Linked DNA regions of Homo sapiens: region 2 is linked to region 1. The links are contacts of gene promoters, found by promoter capture Hi-C in blood cells and fetal thymus (Javierre and others, 2016). All regions are on one chromosome and are shown on one strand. The core of a region is centred on a gene start or on the middle of the fragment in contact, and the rest is flanking DNA. Distances in the headings are between cores, read along the strand shown. Region 1 holds the start of ANXA7 (annexin A7). Region 2 holds the start of SYNPO2L (synaptopodin 2 like).

What was found. The method cuts DNA at HindIII sites, captures the fragments that hold promoters and counts their contacts. A CHiCAGO score of 5 or more calls a contact.
Region 2: a contact is called between the fragment with the promoter of SYNPO2L here and the fragment with the promoter of ANXA7 in region 1, in 2 of 17 cell types (erythroblasts and endothelial precursors). The highest score is 6.0, in erythroblasts.

What each region holds. Positions count from the first base shown.
Region 1 is chr10:73,411,633-73,415,888 of GRCh38, reverse strand. ANXA7 (annexin A7) reads left to right here and starts at 1,831. Exons shown (of 13, transcript NM_001156.5): 1 at 1,831-1,877. RefSeq lists a silencer at 1,648-2,207 and enhancers at 2,608-2,687, 2,698-2,817. The HindIII fragment of the contact is 4,736 bases long and covers 978-4,256 here.
Region 2 is chr10:73,653,319-73,657,289 of GRCh38, reverse strand. SYNPO2L (synaptopodin 2 like) reads left to right here and starts at 1,261. Exons shown (of 4, transcript NM_001114133.3): 1 at 1,261-1,472; 2 at 3,010-3,161; 3 at 3,637-3,971. The coding sequence starts at 1,368. It overlaps SYNPO2L-AS1 (SYNPO2L antisense RNA 1), which reads right to left and starts at 3,251. Exons shown (of 3, transcript NR_187519.1): 1 at 2,984-3,251. RefSeq lists a silencer at 1,025-1,319. The HindIII fragment of the contact is 8,470 bases long and covers 1-2,400 here.

The DNA.
Region 1 (4,256 bases), core at 582-3,081:
TATTTCACATGAACTCTGGAACATACCATGGCCTTCAGAGATGTTGACCAGGTATGGTGGCTCATGCCTGTAATACATCCAGCACTTTGGGAGGCTGAGGCAGGTGGATCGCTTGAGGCCAGGAGTTCGAGACCAGCCTGGCCAACATGGCGAAACCCCATCTGTACTAAAAATACAAAAAAATTAGCTGGGCGTGGTGACATGCCTCCCAGCTACACGGGAGGCTGAGGCATGAGAATCGCTTGAACCCCGGAGGCAGAGGTTGCAGTGAGCCTAGATCGCACCACAGCACTCCAGCCTGGGTGACAGAGCAAGACTCTGTCTCCAAAAAAATTAAAAAATTAAAATGGTCCAGTTGAGTACAAAAAAGAAGATCAGGAAGAGTTTATTGGAGCAAGACGGAGATGAGCAACCTTGAAAACAAGTCTAATTAAGATGAGTAATTGTTAAAAGATGAGCAGTGCTTTCTAAGCAGAGGTAGCAGGAGGAAAGGGTCTCCGATCCTGTAACGCCTTTTATGCCAGGAAGAAAGGATGAATTGAAAGGATGAAATGGCAAATGTCGTAGTAGACTATTGGACTATTCCTGCAGCTCAGGAAAGTGGGCTGGAAATAAGAGGTTTGGCAAATACCCTGTTATGGTGGTATTTAAGGCAGAGGGAGGGTTTGGAACGAGCTCACAAAGGGAACTCTAGAATGAACAGAGTAGGCTTCTCAGGGAAGGCTTAAATCCTGGAGGTCTCTGGGGTAGGTAGGACAGAAAGTCCTGTTATTTTCCAGGTAGACAGACTGTTGGGCGCCGGGGAATTAATGCTGGTCACCTAGAGAGTTGTGCATTTTGTCTACCATTGTTAAATGAGGCAATGACCTGCCTCAAATACTTTTCACTCCACACACCTATTTGGAAGCCACGTATATTTTGCTTGCTCTTCCCATTTAAAATCGTAATCCACTCTATTCCACCCCCATGAGGAAGCTTTTGGGTAGAAAAGTGTGTAGAGGAATAAGTAAGTTGATGTGCATCAGATGTGCAAACTTTAGTGTGCATCAGAACCACCTGGAAGGCTTGTTAAAACAGGTTGCTGGGCACCACCCGGGGAGTTTGATTCAGTAGGTCTAAGGTGGAGTTCAATAATCTGCGTTACTAACACGTTTCCAGGTGATGCTGCTGTTCGGGGGACCACACCCAGAAGCTACCTTTTACCACTCTAAAAGGTAGCTGATTGGTTTTCTCTGTAATATAAATTCCTTAACGAGTTTAAAATATTGATCTGAGCCCTCGTAATTGCCTCAAATGTTTAATGCTAATGTGTGTTCAATGCTGTAGCCACGAGGGGAGCCTAAAATCACCTAACAACTCCTTTCGGGAGTGATTTTGATTAGTTCATCTACAGTTCCAACTAAGATTTCCCACAAATATTACTTTCACAGGAGGCTAACAAAAAACGCCGTCTTTGTCCCCAGAAAATACCTGGAGGACGGTATTTCAGAGGCGGGGAGGCTGCACCAGCCTCCCAGTCTCAGCCCTTCTCTACCGCCCGCCACTGAAGGGGCCCCGGATACCCCCAGGACTGCTGCAACTTCCTAGGTGACTTGAGGCAGCCTTAAAAGGGATTGGTGCAGGGTCCTTGCGACAGATAAATGTGATTAAAAATCCGCTGGGCCACCCGAAGGGAGAGTCTTTTTCCCTCAGGTGGCGCCTAGGGGCGGGACTGAGGGACAGCCCGCTCCCCGCAGCGCCCTCTCCGGCTCCGGGGGTGTTCCCGGCTGCAGCCGCGATCCTAACGGGCTCGCGAGACGCCCCGCCCACCCTGGGCCCGCCCCCGGCTCCATCTTGCGGGAGACCGGGTTGGGCTGTGACGCTGCTGCTGGGGTCAGGTGAGGAGCGGCGCCCCCCTCCCTTTCCCACCTCGTCTGCCTCGGTGGTCTTGCCCTCGGCCAGCTCTGGGCGCTGCTGTCCCGGTGCTAGTGGGGCGCGGCTGGAGGGCAGTGTGGGCCTCCCGGATGGCGGCGACTCGGTTTGCGCGTCTCGTAGCCGGGCTGCCGGCCGGGGTGTGTTGGGGTGGCGTGGGTGAGGCGGCCGGCCTGGCTTACGGGAAGCCCTTCCGTCCGTTTGGAAATCCCAGGGACCAGTGGCGCCCCGCCCTCGGGCAGGTGGAGGGGCTGAGGCCGGAGCGTGGCCCAGCTGCCTCGCGGGAGGCTGAGTAGGGAAACGCACGGGCAGTGCTGAAAGCCGTCTGGCTGGTAGTGGCTGTACTTTCCGGTGACACAGCGAATTTAGGGAAACTTGGGGAAATTTTTACTGTGTTTAGTGAACCGTAGGACAGAATGCGCCAGGCCAAGGTCGTACACTGGTTCTCGTTTACAGTTCTTGGAAGCTATTCTAGAATAGCATTCCAGATTTGATTGCTGTTCCCCGACCAGCAGCAAATCTGTGTTGAAATTAGCTCATCCTGTGCAAACACTGCGCAAGGAAACCAAGGTGCAGAGGTAGATGGCTGATGTCCACCGTAAAGTGACAGACATGACGCTGTTGTCTTCCGACTGCCGTAAACGCCCTGATTTTTGCCAGCTGATGGCCAGCTAATCTGCTAAATGTGTCCGAATTAGATGATGAGTGTAATGAGTTACCTTCCAGGCAAGGAAAGAGTTTCAAGCACTGAATAGGTAAAAGAGATAATTTTGGCCACTGCAAACTTTCAGTCCTTTTCAGTGAGGACTGTCTTTCAGTCCTCACTGGTGGTTGGCTACCTACCTGTCCGTGCAGAGGACTAGCCATGCCTCCATGTTCTTTCTCCACATCACTGACGGATTTAAATGATCCTACCATACCTAGAAGCCGGTTTTGCAAAATTGTATTCGCTGTTGCGCGTATCTTCAGTCACCCTTCCTGTTTCGTGTATTTTTTCCCCCATAAATTTGCAACAGCTGCCTCTTGGGTTCCTGGGCTTCATGCCATCAATGAGAAACGGTGAGACCCAGCCCTTTTACTAACTGACTCACTGGGTGGAGGTGGTTTGGAAAACCAAAAATGATTTTCTAGTCTTTTAAAAGTGATTGCTAACAGAGAATGTTTAAAAAAAAAAAAAAAAAAGCCCGAGCGCGGTGGCTCACTCCTGTAATCCTAGCACTTTGGGAGGCCGAGGCGAGAGATTCACGAGGTCAGGAGGAGTTTGAGACCAGCTTGACCAACACGGTGAAACCCCGTCTCTACTTAAAAATACAAAAATTAGCTGGGCGTGGTGGCGCGCGCCTGTAATCCCAGCTACTCTGGAGGCTGAGGCAGGAGAGTCGCTTGAACCCGGGAGGCAGAGGTTGCAGTGAGCCAAGATCGCCACTGCACTCCAGCCTGGGCGGCAGAGAGAAACTCTGTCACAAAAAAAAAAAAAACCCAAAAAACTCTAGACTTACTATTCACTTGGGCAAAGTTGAGAAATTTTTTGAGTCACTCTGGGTGTTATTTAGCTTTTTACAAAAACGTTTAAAATCTGCCTCTTGAATAAATGATATATGTACAATTCTAAAAGGGCTAAAGTACATTGAAAAGTAAGTCTCGGCCGGGCGCAGTGGCTGTCGCCTGTAATCCCAGCACTTTGGGAGGCCTAGGCGGGAGGATCACGAGGTCAGGAGATCGAGACCATCCTGACTAACACGGTGAAACCCCGTCTCTACTAAAAATACAAAAATTAGCCGGGCGTGGTGGCAGGCGCCTGTAGTCCCAGCTACTCAGGAGGTTGAGGCACAAGAATCTCTTGAACCCCGGAGGCGGAGGTTGCAGTAAGCTGAGATCGTGCCACTGCACTCCAGCCTGGCAACAGAGCGAGACTCCATCTCAAAAAAAGAAAAAAGAAAGGTAAATAGTCTTCTCCATTGTGTCCCAGCTCTTCATCCAGGAAGCAGTCACTGTTTTCTACTTCCTTGAGTGTCCTTTCAGGGATATTCTATAAGTCAAAATCAGTGCATTTTTTACACATAATGGCAGCACACTATGCAGTTTTTCACTTTGCCTTTTTTTTTTTTCATTAATACGTGTTATAGATGGTTTCATATATGGGTAAAAGAAAAAGCTGCCTCATTTTTAATAACCACATAACACCTCCTTGTATGGCTATCCATAATCTGTTTCACCTGTCCCTCCTTTTTAAAAATTTAAGCAATGGCCCCGCACAGTGGCTCACGCCTGTAATCCCAGCACTTTGGGAGGCCGAGGTGGGTGGATCACCTGAGGTCAGGAGTTCGAGACTAGCCTGGCCAACA
Region 2 (3,971 bases), core at 12-2,511, 240 kb before region 1:
ACCTGCCTCAGCCTCTCAAAGTGCTGGGATTATAGGCATGAGCCACTGCACCCAGCCCAAGTGTTTCTAGGACATAGAGGCATATGCCAAGGCAAACGGTATTTAGCATACACTAGGTGGGCAGCTATTTTATGAAACTCTGTAGCCTTTGATAATCACAGTTATAGCACCATAATGTTATGCCTTGTAACAGAGACATTCTCGTAATGGAAACCTAGAGACAAGTAGAGATTGTATTAACATGGGTTGGTATGTTTATGCACACCTACACACCTTTCCATGACCACGTATGTATTGCAATAGGTAATTTGTTTTTTTATAGTTTTTTGTTTGTTTGTTTGTTTTTTTTTTTTTTTTGAGACGGAGTCTCGCTCTGTCACCCAGGCTGGAGTGCAGTGGCACGACCTCGGCTCACCACAAGCTCTGCCTCGCGGGTTCACGCCATTCTCCTGCCTCAGCCTCCAGAGTAGCTGGGACTACAGGCGTCTGCCACCAAGCCCAGCTAATTTTTTGTATTTGTAGTAGAGACGGGGTTTCCTCGTGTTAGCCAGGATGGTCTCAATCTCCTGACCTCGTGATCCGCCCACCTTGGTCCCAAAGTGCTGGGTTTACAGGTGTGAGCCACCGTGCCCAGCCTATAGTTTTTTGGTTTTTTTTTTTAACTTTTTTTAATAATAAGAAAATAGAGATGGGGGGCCATCTCACGATGTTGCCCAGGCTGGTCTCAAATTCCTGGACTCAAGCAATCCACCCACCTTGGCCTCCCAAAGTGCTAGGATTACAGGCGTGAGCCACCATGCCTGGCCCACCATTTATTAATTAACAGATAAATTTATATAGCGAGAGTGCATTCTTTCCTGGGATCTTGGAGCAAGCCCAGCCATTCTTTGCCAGCTATGGAATTGAAGCCCCTGCTGCTGCCACTTTGAAAGGGTCTTTGGAGGAAAGCAGTTGAGATTAGCCCATGGTCCTATTAGAGAAGGCACAGTTCCTGAAAGGGTGTACATTGGTTATAGAGCCCAGAGAGTTTGTATTCTGAGTCCTGAATAAAAGGCCCATGCAGGAGAATTGGGAACATGGAGGGCAGAAGTTTGTACTATAATTAGCTCTAGGAGTAACACAGAAGGGGGAGGGAGGGGAGTACAAGCGGCATCTATTTTGAGCACATCTGCGATTGACGGGACATGTGTGCTGGACTGTAATGATCCCAGGGCCAAGTTGCCTGCCTGTGGTGTGTGGTGTGGGGGGGAGGCCTGGGGCAGCAGGAGCAGGACAGCCGGACAGGAAGCCCAGACGGGGTTCGAGCACCTCAACTTCTCTCCTGGGGACACTGTTCAAACTCCGGGGGCCATAGGCCAAGCTGAGCGATGGGTGCTGAGGAGGAGGTGCTGGTCACACTATCAGGGGGAGCCCCCTGGGGCTTCCGACTTCATGGGGGGGCCGAGCAGAGGAAACCGTTACAGGTGTCTAAGGTAAGGGAGAGCCCCTGAAATGAGGCTTCAGGGAAAGGGAACCCAAGGGATCCTGGGAAGAGATGTGTGGTGGCATATGGCGGGGGTTGGGGGGGTGGGAGGCTGTGAAGATGGGGTGGGTGGTGGGCAGGGAAGTATGCTCAAGTCTCATAGTGGGAGTAGCGTCTGACCACAGGCTTCCTGTGGGGGTCTATTAGAAAAGAGAATTCGCGGTTTCCAGGGAGCAGAGGAAAAGGAAAGGCTCTGCTTCAGTTCCCTGCAGCACTGTGGTATCAGAGGCCCAGCTCTGGTCATCCAGTGTTTGTTCTCTTGGGTATGTGCCTCTACTCCAAACTCCAGAAATACGGGGAAGGTTCTAATTTCTCTCTGACTAAACTGATATGTGATGAACTGAAACTGCCTCGAACAGCCTAGCCCAGCCCAGCCCTACCCTGCCTCACCCTGCCCTGCCCATGCCTTCAGTGCTCTTTCCCTAGGTCAGATCCTTTCTCTCACTAGGCAAGACTTTTTTAGGTGCTAGGAGGGTTATGGCAAGATCTGGCCTCACAGATGAAGTCATTATCCTTTTGGTTTCACCCTACAGGCTTAGTTTTCCGAACTGTAAAATGTGGGTAATAATAGTACCTGTACCTACTTCATGGAACCATTCTAAGGATTAAATGCAATAATACATGTAGCACAGTGCCCAACACTTAGTAAGAACTCAATAAATGGTAGCCACTACTACTATTATTACTTTGGCATATATACATTTGTGTGTATACATGGCACACATATACCCAAATAATCACAATCTCCCAGAATACCGCTGGACTCCCTCCAACCTGGAGTACTGTTCTAAAATCTTGACTGTGTAATGGCGCCTGGGGTTACAAGGCCTAGTAGAGAATTACCAGCCAATATAGATATTGCCCTTGGAGAAAAAGCTTGTGGAGATAATCACCATTTCTTTCCGTTTTTTTTCTTTTCTTTTTTTTTGCGACAGAGTCTTACTCTGTTGCCCAGGCTGGAGTGCAGTGACATGATGGCTCACTGCAACCTCTGCTTCCTGGGTTCAAGCAATTCTCCTGCCTCAGCCTCCCAAGTATCTGGGATTACAGGCGCACACCACCACGGCCAGCTGATTTTTGTACTTTTAGTAGAGACAGCGTTTCACCCATTGGCCAGGCTGGTCTCAAACTCCTGATCTCAAGTGATCCACCCACCTAGGCCTCCCAAAGCACTGGGCTTACAGGCGTGAGCCACTGCACCCAGCCAATAACCACCATTTCTAGTTACCTACCCCATGCAGTTCTTCCCAAGCCTCTTTCATTCAATGGTTACCCTATTTCCCACCATATGATGTATTTCTTTCTCCAGTCTGTATACTTTCTTCCCTCTAGACAGGCCACTTCAACTGCAGCCACTTCCATGCATCTCCCCACCCTTCTTACCCTGCAAAGTAAAATCCCCTCCTGTGGGTCCTTCCCATCTTTTCCTTTCATTCTATTCCCTTTGGAGCCCCCTCTTACCTACAGTGTCTCCTTCAACATCTCAGATTCGAAGACGGAGCCAGGCTGGCAGAGCAGGACTCCGAGAGAGGGACCAGCTCTTGGCAATCAATGGGGTCTCTTGCACCAACCTCTCCCATGCCAGTGCCATGAGCCTCATCGATGCCTCAGGAAATCAGCTTGTCCTCACTGTGCAGCGGTATGGACCTCTCTCCTCTTCTCTTCCCCTAATCCAGGGCTCCCATTGCCTGTCTCAGCTCTATGTCTCACTGGCCTGGCTTTAGCAACTAACAGGTACCTATTTCTGCTCGTGCGTTTCTGCTGGAGTGCAGATGGTTTGTGTCTGCCTCCCAGAGGGCTTGAATGTATCTGCAATTAAGGGATGGGGATGTCAGTGGGTATTTGACTGATGAGCCTACTTCAACCCCTGGCCTGTTTCCTCCTCATTACATCTTCCTCTAAGCCTATTTCCACTCACAGCCCTTCAAGCACATTTGCCTCCCAGTTTGTCTTCATATCTCCACTCTTCCCGGCCCACCCATTCCAACTGTATGACAGCCTTCTCTCTCCCTTACCTCTTCCCTCCCCCTTACCTCTTCCCTCCATCCCTTCCAGATCTCTCTAGCTGTCAGTACCCAGCCCATCTCTCAAGCTCTGTCATCTTTCCTATCCAGGTTAGCAGACGAGGGTCCTGTGCAATCTCCATCTCCCCATGAGCTTCAGGTGCTGTCACCCTTATCTCCACTAAGTCCTGAGCCCCCTGGTGCTCCAGTTCCTCAGCCTCTTCAGCCTGGGAGCCTTCGTTCACCTCCTGATAGTGAGGCTTACTACGGAGAGACTGACAGTGATGCTGATGGCCCTGCCACCCAGGAGAAGCCCCGTCGACCTCGCCGCCGAGGCCCCACAAGGCCCACCCCTCCGGGTGCCCCACCTGATGAGGTCTACCTGTCTGACAGCCCTGCAGAGCCAGCACCTACTATCCCTGGCCCTCCCAGCCAGGGTGACAGCC